Regions from separate parts of the Homo sapiens genome. Here all the other regions are linked to region 1. Evidence: promoter capture Hi-C in 16 types of primary human blood cells and fetal thymus (Javierre and others, 2016). All regions are on one chromosome and are shown on one strand. Each heading gives the region's core, a stretch centred on a gene start or on the middle of the fragment in contact. The rest is flanking DNA. Distances are from core to core; before and after follow the strand shown. Region 1 holds the start of USO1 (USO1 vesicle transport factor). Region 2 holds the start of ABRAXAS1 (abraxas 1, BRCA1 A complex subunit). Region 3 overlaps HNRNPD (heterogeneous nuclear ribonucleoprotein D).

The links. Contacts are between HindIII fragments. The CHiCAGO score rates a contact against its expected background, and 5 or more counts as called.
Region 2: a contact is called between a fragment that was not itself captured here and the fragment with the promoter of USO1 in region 1, in 1 of 17 cell types (non-activated CD4 T cells). The highest score is 5.2, in non-activated CD4 T cells.
Region 3: a contact is called between a fragment that was not itself captured here and the fragment with the promoter of USO1 in region 1, in 1 of 17 cell types (neutrophils). The highest score is 5.4, in neutrophils.

What each region holds. Positions count from the first base shown.
Region 1 is chr4:75,722,378-75,726,581 of GRCh38, reverse strand. It overlaps USO1 (USO1 vesicle transport factor), which reads right to left and starts at 2,005. Exons shown (of 24, transcript NM_003715.4): 1 at 1,697-2,005. The coding sequence starts at 1,762. It also overlaps a transcript of G3BP2 not described here. RefSeq lists silencers at 1,537-1,714, 2,049-2,218 and enhancers at 1,799-1,878, 975-1,894, 1,895-2,815. The HindIII fragment of the contact is 5,085 bases long and covers 1-3,504 here.
Region 2 is chr4:83,482,799-83,487,002 of GRCh38, reverse strand. It overlaps ABRAXAS1 (abraxas 1, BRCA1 A complex subunit), which reads left to right and starts at 1,903. Exons shown (of 9, transcript NM_139076.3): 1 at 1,903-2,017. The coding sequence starts at 1,931. RefSeq lists a silencer at 1,688-2,177. The HindIII fragment of the contact is 4,128 bases long and covers 1-3,961 here.
Region 3 is chr4:82,364,419-82,368,622 of GRCh38, reverse strand. The region is part of intron 2 of HNRNPD (heterogeneous nuclear ribonucleoprotein D); the gene reads left to right. Among named protein-coding and RNA genes, the nearest start is that of HNRNPD, 7.5 kb to the left of the region's middle. RefSeq lists an enhancer at 2,082-2,753. The HindIII fragment of the contact is 2,515 bases long and covers 561-3,075 here.

The sequences.
Region 1 (4,204 bases), core at 756-3,255:
TTTTTTTTTTTTTTGAGATGGAGTCTCTTCATGCTGCCCAGGCTAGTCTCAAACTCCTGGGCTCAAGCGATCCTCCTGGCTTAGCATCCCCTTAGCTGGGATTATAGGCCTGTGTCACTGCGACTAGCTGCAGTTAATTTTAGTAATACTATATAAAGTTCCCAAAAAGTATTGAAATACAGGCATGAGCAATAAAGTGAAGGCTTTGAAGTAAGGTACCTCTTGGTTGAATCCTGGCTCTATTATTAGCAGTGTGACATTGGTCAAGTTACTTCACCCCTTTTTTTTTTTTTTTTTTTTGAGACAGAGTTTCGCTCTTGTTGCCCAGGCTAGAGTGCAATGGCACGATCTCTGCTCACCGTAACCTCCGCCTCCCGAGTTCAAGCGATTCTCCTGCCTCAGCCTTCCGAGTGGCTGGGATTACAGGCATGTGCCACCACGGCCGGCTAATTCTGTATTTTTAGTAGAGACGGGGTTTCTCCATGTTGGTCAGGCTGGTCTCGAACTCCCGACCTCAGGTGATCCGCCGGCCTCAGCCTCCCAAAGTGCTGGGATTAGAGGCGTGAGCCACCGCGTCCGGCCTACTTCACCCCTCTCAGTCTCATTTTTTGACTTTTAAGGTGAGAATACTCTCACCTATCTTGCAGGGTAGTTAACGATTAAAGCATAATGTGGAATATAAAGAGCTCAGCACAGAACCTAGCACAAGGTAAGAGCCTGACAAATGAAAGCTACTATATTATCCCTCAGGATCCCATTAACAAAGTTAGCCATTAAAGTGTTATACTTAGTCTCTTTTATGTAGATCTAAAATTCTTCTCAAATAAAAAGTTTATTTCAAAAAGGCATACACCCTCGATTCCATTAAACACTAACCAAACTTCAAAATAAGTGTATTCTAAACCTAGAATCTAAGCAACTATTAAATAATGTTTTCAGCGGCTAACCATTTTTTTTTTTTTTTAAATAACGCCGCAAATCATGTCATTAGGAGTTCAGGCAGAAAGCGGTGGACGTGTCCCCAAAGCAGTTTGAGCGCTTAAGATCCCTACTACGTTCAAGGTAGCATTTGCCAAATGATATATATTTGGGTGAGCCCGAAAAGCCGGATCTGAACAAATAACACCAGGCAGAACGACCGCTCTTCCAGTTGATGGGACAGGAGCAGGTGGATTTGTCCTTCAAAGAATATCGTTTTATTCTTAGCCAAATGCTCTCACCAACAGCTGGGTTTTAAACCTTCTCGCAGTTTTCCCCAACGCCCCAGTTTCAGACTGCGAGGGAGGGAGCAGGACTTCAGGCTCCTCTCGGCCAGTGCAGACGAGCGAAAGAGAAAGAGGGAGGGGCCCACGGCCCCGAGGGGCGTGGGAGGCAGTTCGGGCCAGCTCGGCCGCGCATCCGTCCCTTCCCGTGCGGTACCACCTGCGGACCACTCTCCTAGCCCGAGCTTCAGGGCCTACAGAGCTGCGGGGCGCGGCCGCCGTCAGTCCGGCCGAACGGCAGCAATGGGGACTGAGCTGGGGGCGTGATTGAATAACTCTGGGATTTCAGGAGCGGAAGGAGGGCAAAGGGGGAGGCGGCATGTGGATGCCCCCTCCATGGTGGGACGCTGGAGGTGACCTTCGGGTCTCCGAGTGCTCCGTCCCCGTCCCTGCCCGGACCCCTTCCCAAGTCCCAGACCCGCTGCTCCTCTCACCGTCTCGGCTTCTGTGTGCTGGGGTCCGGCACTCTGACCCCCCATTACCCCGCGGAGGAAATTCATCTTGCCGTTCAGCCACCAGGTTTACCGGCCCCTCCGGAAAAAAAAGAAGACAACTTCCCCCGCCCTCCGCAGGGCCTGGGCCCCAATCCCGCACTCTACACACTCCTACTGCTGCCACCACCGCCTCCAACTCGGCGGCCACTCCAGCCCTCTAAGCCCGGAAACAGCCGCCAGCAGCGGCCAAGATGCGCATGCGCGGGGACGTGGCATTACGTGGCGGCTCGAAGGTTGAAGGCAAAAGGGGAGCGGAGGCGAGAGGAACCTCTTAGCTAGGTTCCGCCGAAGCCCCACCCACTGCGCAGACCCCGCCTCCCACCGCAGGGGCACGCCTCCTACCCCCACCCTTCGCGGATTGATCCTGCTGGCCGCAGCCACCCACGTGGTGGAAGCCCGGCCCTGCAGGCTGGAGAGGATTTGATTAGACTACGCGTTTCGACTTGCAGGGTGTTTAATCGTCGCCAAGCGGGACTTACTGCAAGCTATCAAATCTGAGGTCTTATTTTGTTGAGTCGAAAGTGAAATTTTCCTTTGGCCAACGTGACAGGTAAGGCTTCCTGGCGCCTGAGAGGGTTCGCTTGGTTTGACGGTTTACTGGTACCAGCATTGTGGCTTTCTGATCCCGGTAAATTGCATTTCTTTACAGGGCTTTGTTTGGTGGTAAAAAGGGTTACTAGACACCCCTCATTCCACTGCCACTGGAGGGCGCATTTCTCAGCTCTTGCTCTTCAAACCTGCTGAAAGGAATTCCTAGATCTAAACACCAGGTACACCTCTATTTTCAAGTGTCGTCAGGAGGAAACCCATCAAACCCTACATTTAGCTTACTAGAGAAATACATTGTTCTGCTGTGTCAGTTTGGCGAGTAACATAATGTTTCGTTATTAACTCTCAACCCCTGTGTTTTCAGTTTTTTTTTTTTTAACATGAAAAATTGTCATTTTCTCTAATTGGTATGCCTGTTCCTTTGGCAGTGAGGTTGTCAGTACACATGCTTCTGGAATAGTCTTGTAAATTTCTTGAGGCTAAAAAGCACAGGTCTAGTTAGCTAACTGACTCATGCACCTCTCCCCTTGGATTCCCCACAGGTCTCAGATTCAGCATTTAAAATTGAACTCGTCATCTTTCCCTGCCTCCCTTAAAGAAAAAAAGTCAATATGCTGCTTCTACTGTGTGCGTGCCGTGCTCAGTAGTACCACTGTCCAAATAATTGCCTAAGCTAGACAGAGGAAGCTGGGAAGAATCTTAGACTCTGGCTTTCCACCCACACATGTCCAATCAATAGTCATGTCCTATCATTTCTATTTATAGAATATTTCTCAAATAGGTGTTCTGCTCTCCATCCTCTGTGCCTGTGACATAGATTATGTTCTTCTCATCATTTCTCATTGAGATGACAGCAACAGCCTCCTAATTAGTTTGTCTGCATTCAGCCCTGGCTTCCTTCCAGTCCAATCTCCAGTCCATCCTTGGGTGAGACTAACAACAACAAAACATCTGTTCATGTCATTCCTCTTAAAATCCTCCAGTTGTTCCCCATTCTGTCCAGAATAAAGTGCAAACTCCTTAGTTTGTCATACAGGCCTGTTATGATTTAGCTCCTGCCTACTTTTTCAGCTCCTGCCTCCCCCACATACTCTGGGCATTTTTCTCAGACCTGGATATGCCCTTCCCTTCCTTTCTCTTCATCAAGCAAACTCCTGCTAATTCCTTAAGGCTCAACTCTGACATCATTCTTGAAAGCTTTCCCTAAAATGTAGGTACACATCTATATGTTAGCACTTTGCAGTTATTGATACTGTATATGGTGTACATTGAATAAATGCTTGCTAAACCAAACTGTTAAGGGCAGGACTATGTTATTCATTTTATATCTCTGTTGCTTACCACTGTCTCATAAAAGGTGATATTGATGGATAAATGAATAAATTATTGAAAGAATATATGAATATTATACTAAGAGGAGGTTCCCTTTTTTTAATCTGTAAAGTGAAATTGTAGGGAAGACATCATAAGCTATGTGTTTCCTAGTGCCAACATTTTAAGCCTGGGCAACTTGGAGAATGGTGGGGTCATACTGCCAAAAATACTGTGCGCTAAGCATTGTCCTCTGCTTTAAAGCTATACACTTGACATTTTACCGTAGACATTTTCCATGGGAGCATTTTGTTGCAGCCTAAAAAAAGTAACCAGTAAATTACTCAGCATTTTTGTTACTAAGAAATGCATGCAAAGAACTTCACTTAAGCCCCTAAGCCTCACCCCTCCCTGAACCTCACTTCACCTTGTCCCTGAAACTCACTCTACCCCATCATCAGGAATGAGGCTCATAGACGGAGTGGGCCACAAATGTCTATTACTCCTCTTATTTAATAATTAAAAAGAGTGCCTTGACATTTTAGCAAAGTTGTTTAAAGGCACCAGCCTTGTCAAATGTCCTGTTTT
Region 2 (4,204 bases), core at 648-3,147, 7.8 Mb before region 1:
GCCCTGAAGCAGGCCATAAACCATAGAAAGAATACTCTGGCCATCTCCCTTGAGGCAGGCCATAAAACCCGGTGTCCTTCCCTGAAGTAGGTCATAAGACCATCATTTGAGAGGTACCCTCCCTTTACATAGAGAAAAGGAATATCCTTACCTCTGAAGACACCAGGACACAGAGAAGAACCTGAACAAACAGCCCATTCTAAGTTCCCCCAGTTTGTTACCATTACATCATACTCCCTTTGTGTAATCATACTCCTGCACGACTGTCCACTCTTTATCAACCCTACGACAATTGTCTTCCACCCCTTCATTGAAATTTCATTATCTACTGACTGTGGAAAGAAGACTGAAAGTCAAACATCAAATCTAGAGCCCAGAGGAACTTTGTACTAAGTTATTGACTGCTGTTTGGGCTCATCCAACTTCCACAAAGAATTCTTTGCAAGCAATCCCTCAAGCTCATCCAAAGAATCAATTGTGATCCTCAAAATTACTTACATTCCTCCATCTCCCTCTCCCTTATGAAAAAGTGTACATAAGCATCTGAACCTCATTGGATTATTGGGTAATCACTCTACTGTGATTTTCTCCAGGGCACATTAATAAATTTGTATGCCAGTCGGGAGCGCCTGTAATCCCAGCACTTTGGGAGGCCGAAGGGGGCAGATCACCCGAGGTCAGGAGTTCGAAACCAGCCTGGCCAACATGGTGAAACCTTGTCTCTAATAAAAATACAAAAAAAATAAATAAATAAGCCGGGCTTGGTGGCACGTGCCTGTAATCCCAGCTACTCAGGAGGCTGAGGCAGAAGAATCGCTTGAACCCGGGAAGTGGAGGCTGCAGTGAGCTGAGATGGTGCCACTGCACTCTGGCCTGGGTGACCAAGCGAGACTCAGTCTCAAAAAAATAAAAAATAAAATAAATTCGTATCCCTTTTCCTTCTGTTCATCTTTTCTTTTGTTAGTTCACTCCAGTGAACCTTCAGAGGGCAGAGCTTTCCCTTCACCCCTACAAAATGAAGGCAAGAAACTTAATTCTAGGGAATAAATATATAATCATTAATTATATACATATGTATTGTGTGTTACGCAGCCACAGACAACTGCTTGACAACAAAACCCACAAATGTGCCACACTAATTCAGTAGTCTGCTATTATGCTTACTTTCAGTCATTTAAGAAACATACCTTTACGTGTGTGTGTGTGTGTGTGTGTGTGTAAAATACATTTGCCAAGCCCTGGTCCACTCACCTTACCATTTACATTAAATGAACCAGCTTACTATGATTATGCCTATCATTAAACTGTCAGAACATTAAATATCCATGTATTGTTTAAATTAGGCTGAAGTTTTCTAAAAGCAAGGGAACACACACATGCACACACACAAACACACAGACACAGAACATGGCTAGAGAGTTCTAGCAAAGACAATCCCCAAATGGTTATTAGTATTCTGTAAGTTTCAGTGAGTGAAGGGTGCTAAAATGCAGCTTGAAAACCAAAACCGTGGCATATCCACTGTGGCATCGTAATGTTGCTACTCAACTCTTTTATTCTTGTAATCATTGCTTGTCTTAAAATGACCCTGTCAACCGTGTTCATTTTGATAGCTTTGCATGTTTGTGACAGGTCGCTCAGCAGGCGCAGGCCACCAAAAGCAATTCGCAGCCCTCTGCAGTGGTACCGACATGCAGCGGCCTTCCGGGAGAGGCCGGCAGCAGAAGCGAAGGAGGAGCCGAGCGCGCGGCTGGGGACCCGCCCGCGCCCGCCCTCAGCCCCCTCGCCCCGCCCCTCTGCGGAGCGCGCAGCAGCCCGTGCGCCGGCGCAGGCCCCGCCTCCTCGCTGGGCCCCGCCTCGCTGCCACCACAGGGTCTTGCCTCCGCGCGCCCCGCCCTCGTCCTCTTGTGTAGCCTGAGGCGGCGGTAGCATGGAGGGGGAGAGTACGTCGGCGGTGCTCTCGGGCTTTGTGCTCGGCGCACTCGCTTTCCAGCACCTCAACACGGACTCGGACACGGTGAGCCGAGGGACGGGGCGGGGTCCGGCGTCGCCTGGGAAGAGCCCTGCGCGCGGCCTGCCTCCCCGCTGTTGCTCCGGTCCCCGCCCGCTCCCCCGACGCCGCCGCGCCTCCTCCCTGCGGTCGCGGCTCTGCCTTCTCTCCCCCTCAGCGGTCCCTGAGGTGCCTCGTGCCCACGAAGTCTTCTCCAGCATTAGCCCTCCCTCTGCTATCCTCCGTTATTTCCCTTTTCCGACCCAAGTGTCCCACACGCTCCCATCTTTCCTCGGCGCCCCTGTAGCTGTGGAAACTTGGGCGTGAAAAGATGGAAAGTTCACGGAGCGTCTTTCCGCTGCTCTGCGGAGCCTGCGGTAAACTTTCCGTTTCTCGCGACGCCCGACAGGCGTTTGCAAAACCAGGCGGACTTTTTCATGCAGAGCAGCGTCTGTGCGTGTTTGTTGCGATGGTAGGATGGTAAGGGAATAAAAATAGATGTTGCGTCCAGTGGCAAATCTTAGTGGATGGAACAGCTTAATCTGGTATATCAGATATCTTTTTATTTGCGTTATTAAATTTGTTAAAACAGTTTTTAAAAGTACGTTGCCTATTTTCTAAAAGTTCTATGAAATTAAAGAAACGCTGTAAAACGTTGAGCTCGGAAGTAGTTAATGTCCTGTAGCACTTTCAGTAACTTGCAGAAAGAAAGTCTAAGCATCTGAAATACACTTCCCTGCTGTGTGGTACAGTTCGGAGAATACCCTGCTGAACAATGCCTAGTAATTTCTGCTAAGTTCATTTTAAGATATAACGTCTATTTTACTCAAAATTGCCTTAATATAGGTCGGGCGCGGTGGCTCACGCCTGTAATTCCAGCCCTTTGGGAAGCCGAGGCGGGTGAATCACCTGAGCCCACGAGTTCGAGACCATCGGGGACAACGTAGTGAGACCCGGTCTCTACAAAATCTAAACATTACAAAATTGCTCTTTGGCACAATCCTAATAAAGGTTGGAATTGGTATGTTTTATGTATACAATTTCAGATAACCTTACAAAGTAATACCTAATAAAGAACAAATATATGACCATTTAAAATATATGTGTAGCTGTGGAAATTATTTTGGAATACCTGTAGTGTAGATAGAGTGGGACCGTAAATCCTCGGTAGCTTAAACGATTAGCCCTTGGGAAGTACCTGAGTGCTAGGGAGGCCCCTGTTTCTCAGATCTTTTTCCTGAAGTCTTTAAAGGGTGGTTTTTCTGGCTAGTTGCACTTGCATTGCCCCCCTGCTTCCCTTCCCTGAGTTCGTCTTTTGAGTATCAAAATCAAGAACACTAGATTCTGGATATCCCCCCGCGTGATTCCAGTAAAGACTCACATTATGGAAATAATCCTTTTTTACTTTTAGGGGAAAAAAGCATTATTAATTATAAAGAATATAAAATATTTCTGTAATCACAGCACTTTGGGACGCGGAGGCAGGAGGATCATTTGAGCCCAGGAGTTCAAGACCAGCGTGGGCAACATAAGGAGACCTCATGTCTACAAAAAAATTTTAAAAATTAGCCCGGCGTGGTGGCACGTGCCTGTAGACCCAGCTACTTGGAAGGCTGAGGCAGCAGGATTGTTTGAGCCTGGGAGGTCAAAGCTGCAGTGAGTAGTGATTGCACCGCTGCACTCCAGCCTGGGTGATGACAGAGCTAGACCTCTTCTCAAAAAAAAAAAAAAAAAAGATATAAAATCTTCATTGTCAAGCACATTGGGTCTTTAAGTGTGCCTAGAGAAATTGAATTCCCCAAAACTCAGATAAATTACCACTGGGGTGGCAGAATACAAGTAGTTTTAAAAGAATCGGGCTCACAGCACTCCTTTTAGAAAGCAGACTCTGAAATTGAATTTAAATCTTTCATATTGTGCATGAGTTTTAATCAGAAAACACTAATCTTGTCATTTCGTACCTTAGAAGCTTTCTGTAACTCCCAGAAGCACATGTGGTTAAATCCAGAGTAGTCATTCGGGGTGTCCCATTATTGGCTCGTTCTTATTTATCTTTGATTTCCTTCTGCTCCAAGGCAAAGTGCTCTGCTCATTCTTCAGTGTGTGCTCATTTCTGGCTTTAAGTCTTATATGCTTCCAAGTGTGCCCAGTGCTTCATGCTCTGCCTACACAAATATTGCCCATAGCTTTAGTCTAATCTGTAGCCTCCCCAGG
Region 3 (4,204 bases), core at 569-3,068, 6.6 Mb before region 1:
CCCGAGTTAAAAATTCCAGAAATTGATGTCCCCAGATCTTTAGATGAACATTTAAGCGAAGAGTATTAAATACTTCTCACTGTAAATTTTCATCTATTATGAAAGATACTAAAAATAATCTCGTTTTTTAAGTTTGGAATTGGGAGAATGTCATTGAAGTTTTTCAGTGCTTGTTTTTGAGATACACATACTTTGCCTTAAATCTGGGGTTTTTTCCCTTAAGCCATGTGACCCTTTCTACAAACTCAGTGTATGTTTTTAATATTTCCTGGGTACTCTGCTATCGTCCTAATACATAATATTAGGGTAAGGCTGCCCTAATACGAGAACATTTTGAGTATACTATTGAGTATACATTTGAGTATACATATTGAGTATACTATTTATGCCAACGTGAAGGATGTGATTAGTTTTAGCCTTCAAGTCATAATACATACCATGCTTGAAAGCATTTAAAAAGGAATAGAGTAATTTTTTTTCCCATTCCACTTGGAAGCTGTGTACCTCAAGTGTGTGCACATTTACAAATGGGTGAAACATAACTTATGTTAGTCCAAGCTTGATTTGACTTCAGTTCTGCTTCAACGTTTTAGTAGATAGGGCACTGAACTGGATGCTGAAAGCGTGGGATCTCTTTCTGTTGCTTCACTTCCAACAGTGTGGTTTCAGGTAATACGACATGTTTGTTACTTGGTTTGCTGATCTATGTGTTGGAAACAATGCTCACCACAGGAGGATTGACTACATAGCCTGCTTTCATAGCTTGTGTGTATTTATCCAGTGCCCTAATAGTTGATACTGCCAGTGATTTACTCCTGTGGAGTAAAGGTAAGCATGTTTTAGTTTCTGGAGTATTATATTGTACGTTGGAGCTAGGTATTTAAGAATATTTGGGGGTGGGGAGGGAAGACTCCAATTTACTGGTGGTGCTTGGCCAGTAATCAAGGTGACAGTTTAAGTATTGGGTCTTGCACTGTAAACTCCTGCTTATCTAGACTTCAGACTACCACAGAGCCCACACAGCCAGGAAGTCTGTCTCCCCATTTAGTCTTATGAGCAAGATAGATGAAGCCATGAGAAAATATACTCAAAAAGCAACCAACAGACAATGTCATGGAATGAATCTCCTACAGATTTTTCCTTACACTTTTGAAAAGTAACATGATTTTAAAACGTTGGAAAATTCATCAAGGTACAAATCATTTTCTGACTTCAGCATTGATACCTAAATTGATTTCCAGTACACAGTTTTATAGAATTGTGAATATGTAGTAATCTCAGTTAACCAGAACCTTAACCTTCAGGTTAAGGAAAATACCTATTCCTTAACCTCTAGGTAAATGGGAGTTTACCTTACAAAGCTGATTGAGAGCTTATTTAAAACGTAAACATACAAGATGTCATTGCTTCCTTGTAGTGAAGTGAAAAGGAGGTATTGGATTAAGCATTTAAAGTTAATTAAAGTAGTGGCTCGTGCCTGTAATCACTGGCTACTCAGAAGTCTTGAGGTATGAGGATCATTTCATGCCAGGATTTCTAGACCAGCTAGGCAACATAATATGACCCCTGTTTCTTTAAAAAAAAAAAAAAAAAAAAGGCTAGTGTGTTGGGGGGTGTGTTTGTAGTTGTAGTTACATCTACTCAGGAGGCAGAGGCAGGAGAATGTGTTGAGCCCAGGAAGGAGCTCAGGGCTGCAGGAAGCTATGATGGAGCCACTGCATTTTGATAGTGAGACCTGGTCTCTTAAAGTGTTTTATTTTTAGGCCAGGCGTAGTGGCTCACACCTGTAATCTCAGCACTTTGGGAGGCCAAGATGGGTGGATCACCTAAGGTCAGGAATTGGAGACCAGCCTGGCCAACATGGCGAAACCCCAGCTCTACTAAAAATACAAAAATTAGCCAGGTGTGGTTACATGCGCCTGTAGTCACTCAGGAGGCTGAGGCGGGAGAATCACTTGAACCCTGGAGGCGGAGGTTGCAGTGAGACAAGGTTGCACCACTGCATTCCAGCTTGGGCAACAGAGCAAGACTCCGTCTCAAAAAAAGAAAAAAAAAGTTTATTTAAAAAACTGTCATGTTGGCCGGGCGCGGTGGCTTATGCCTGTCATCCCAGCACTTTGGGAGGCTGACGCAAGCGAATCACCTGAGGTCAGGAGTTCGAGACCAACCTGGCCAACATGTTGAAACCCTGTCTCTACTAAAAATACAGAAATTAGCCGGGCATGATGGTGGGCATCTGTAGTCCCATCTACTTGGGAGGCTGAGGCAGGAGAAGAGCTTGAACCCGGGAAGCAGAGGTTGCAGTGAGCCAAGATCGCGCCACCGCACTCCAGCCTGGGCGACAAAGCGAGACTCTGTCCCCCTCCCAAAAAAACTGTCATGTTTCATTTATTAGATGTTTATTTTTTCAACTTCGCTTTTTAGTAGTCATTTAGTTAGGTTCATTCTAAAGTGTGAAGTAATGAGATTTAATACAGAGAAGTCTCTGAAAATGTTTGGTCCATTGTATATTAGTCTTGAATAAATGGAATTCTTTTTCACACTTACCTTGAAAATGTCATCTGTAGAAAGCTGGGGGAGAGGAATACCTATTCTTTAATGATGGGGAAATAATACCAAAATTTATATTTTTATTGACTAAAGTGTTTTTTGGGGAAGATTTGTTATTGGCTAACCTTAATGTCTCATTAGTTTTAAATAGTTAAAAAAAGTGGGCTGGGTGCGGTGGCTCACGCTTGTAATATAGCACTTTGGGAGGCTGAGGTGGGCAGATTGAACCCAGGAGTTCCAGACCAGCCTGGGCAACATGATGAGATCCTGTCTCTACAAAAAAAAAAAAAAAAAAAAAAAATTAGCTGGGCCTCGTGGTGTGCACCCATAGTCTCAGCTACCCAGGAGCTTGAGATGGGAAGATTGCTTGAACTTGGGAGGCAGAGGTTGAAGTGAGCCAGGATCACACCATTGCACCACAGCCTGGCAATAGAGCGAGACTCTGTCTCAAAAAAGTGGTTTTCATGAATTTTATACCAGATCAGATCTAAAAAGGCTGGTTAGTATTTGAACTCGATGAAAGCTTGTCAAGCTCTCTCCCAAGGTAGTTTTCATACAACTTGTAAAATACCCTAACGTGTGATATTATCTAGTTGCATTGTAACCTCCTCCCTTCCCCTTAGGTAACTAGTGACTTAGCTTTAGTTTGTCATTTTAGGATTTTAGAAGAATAATTATGATGGATAAAATACTGGAAAAATTCAGTAAGGATTTAATGGTGTGCTTGAGTAACATTACTTTAAAAGATGACAGTGATTGGTCATTTATGTTTTATACCTGAAATGTATATCAGGTTGACATTCTGTTGTATTTTTTAAACTGTCAGAACTTGTTATAAAGCCATGTATGTAAGATCATAAGTTGTTAGGAAGTGTTTAAAAGTTAAAGGATTGGCTGGGTGTGGTGGCTCATGCCTGTAATCCTAGCACTTTGGGAGGCTGATCGCTATGTCCAGGAGTTCTGTGACTAGCCTGGGTAACAGAGCAAGATCTCGTCTCTAAAAAAGTAAAAATAATACGAAGTTATAGAACATAGAAAAAGAATACTATTCCAAAATTGGGAGTGAGTATAATGGCTAACTTTTTACCTTGAATAAGGTGTTTGACAATAAAGACTTATTAGGGGAGGTATCTTGGAATAAAATAGTTAATATTGACTGGGAATGTTAAAAACCTAGTGACCTAAATAGTCCAGAGAATAAGTTTATTGATGGGGAAAAGCCAGGATTATTAAATCGGAACATTTTCCACCAGCCAGGATTGCTCCATGTATATTTCCTTTTATGTTTTAAATTATTCTTTACTAAAATTACTGGCATAAATGTAGGGTAGACCAAGTCATCAAGGTGATTTTGGAAGCTACATTTAAAGGGTCTTAGTTGAAATACCACCTAATTTTTAGTTTATATATTTTTTTACATGGACTATTTAAAAATTTCTGGGTTATTTCAAGTTGGCAGCATTGAAAATATTAGAATATGTTTATATAAAACTCATTGTGGCCTTTTCCTTTTAATGTTGGAAAGTTTATAAAGCCTATGCAGTTTTAAAAAATTAAGCCATTGAGTAAATAAAAAGTTTGCTTTATTAAATTATGTTTAGATAGTGCTTATAGTGCTTTACCCCTTCAAAATAGTAACTTCTATCAATCATTT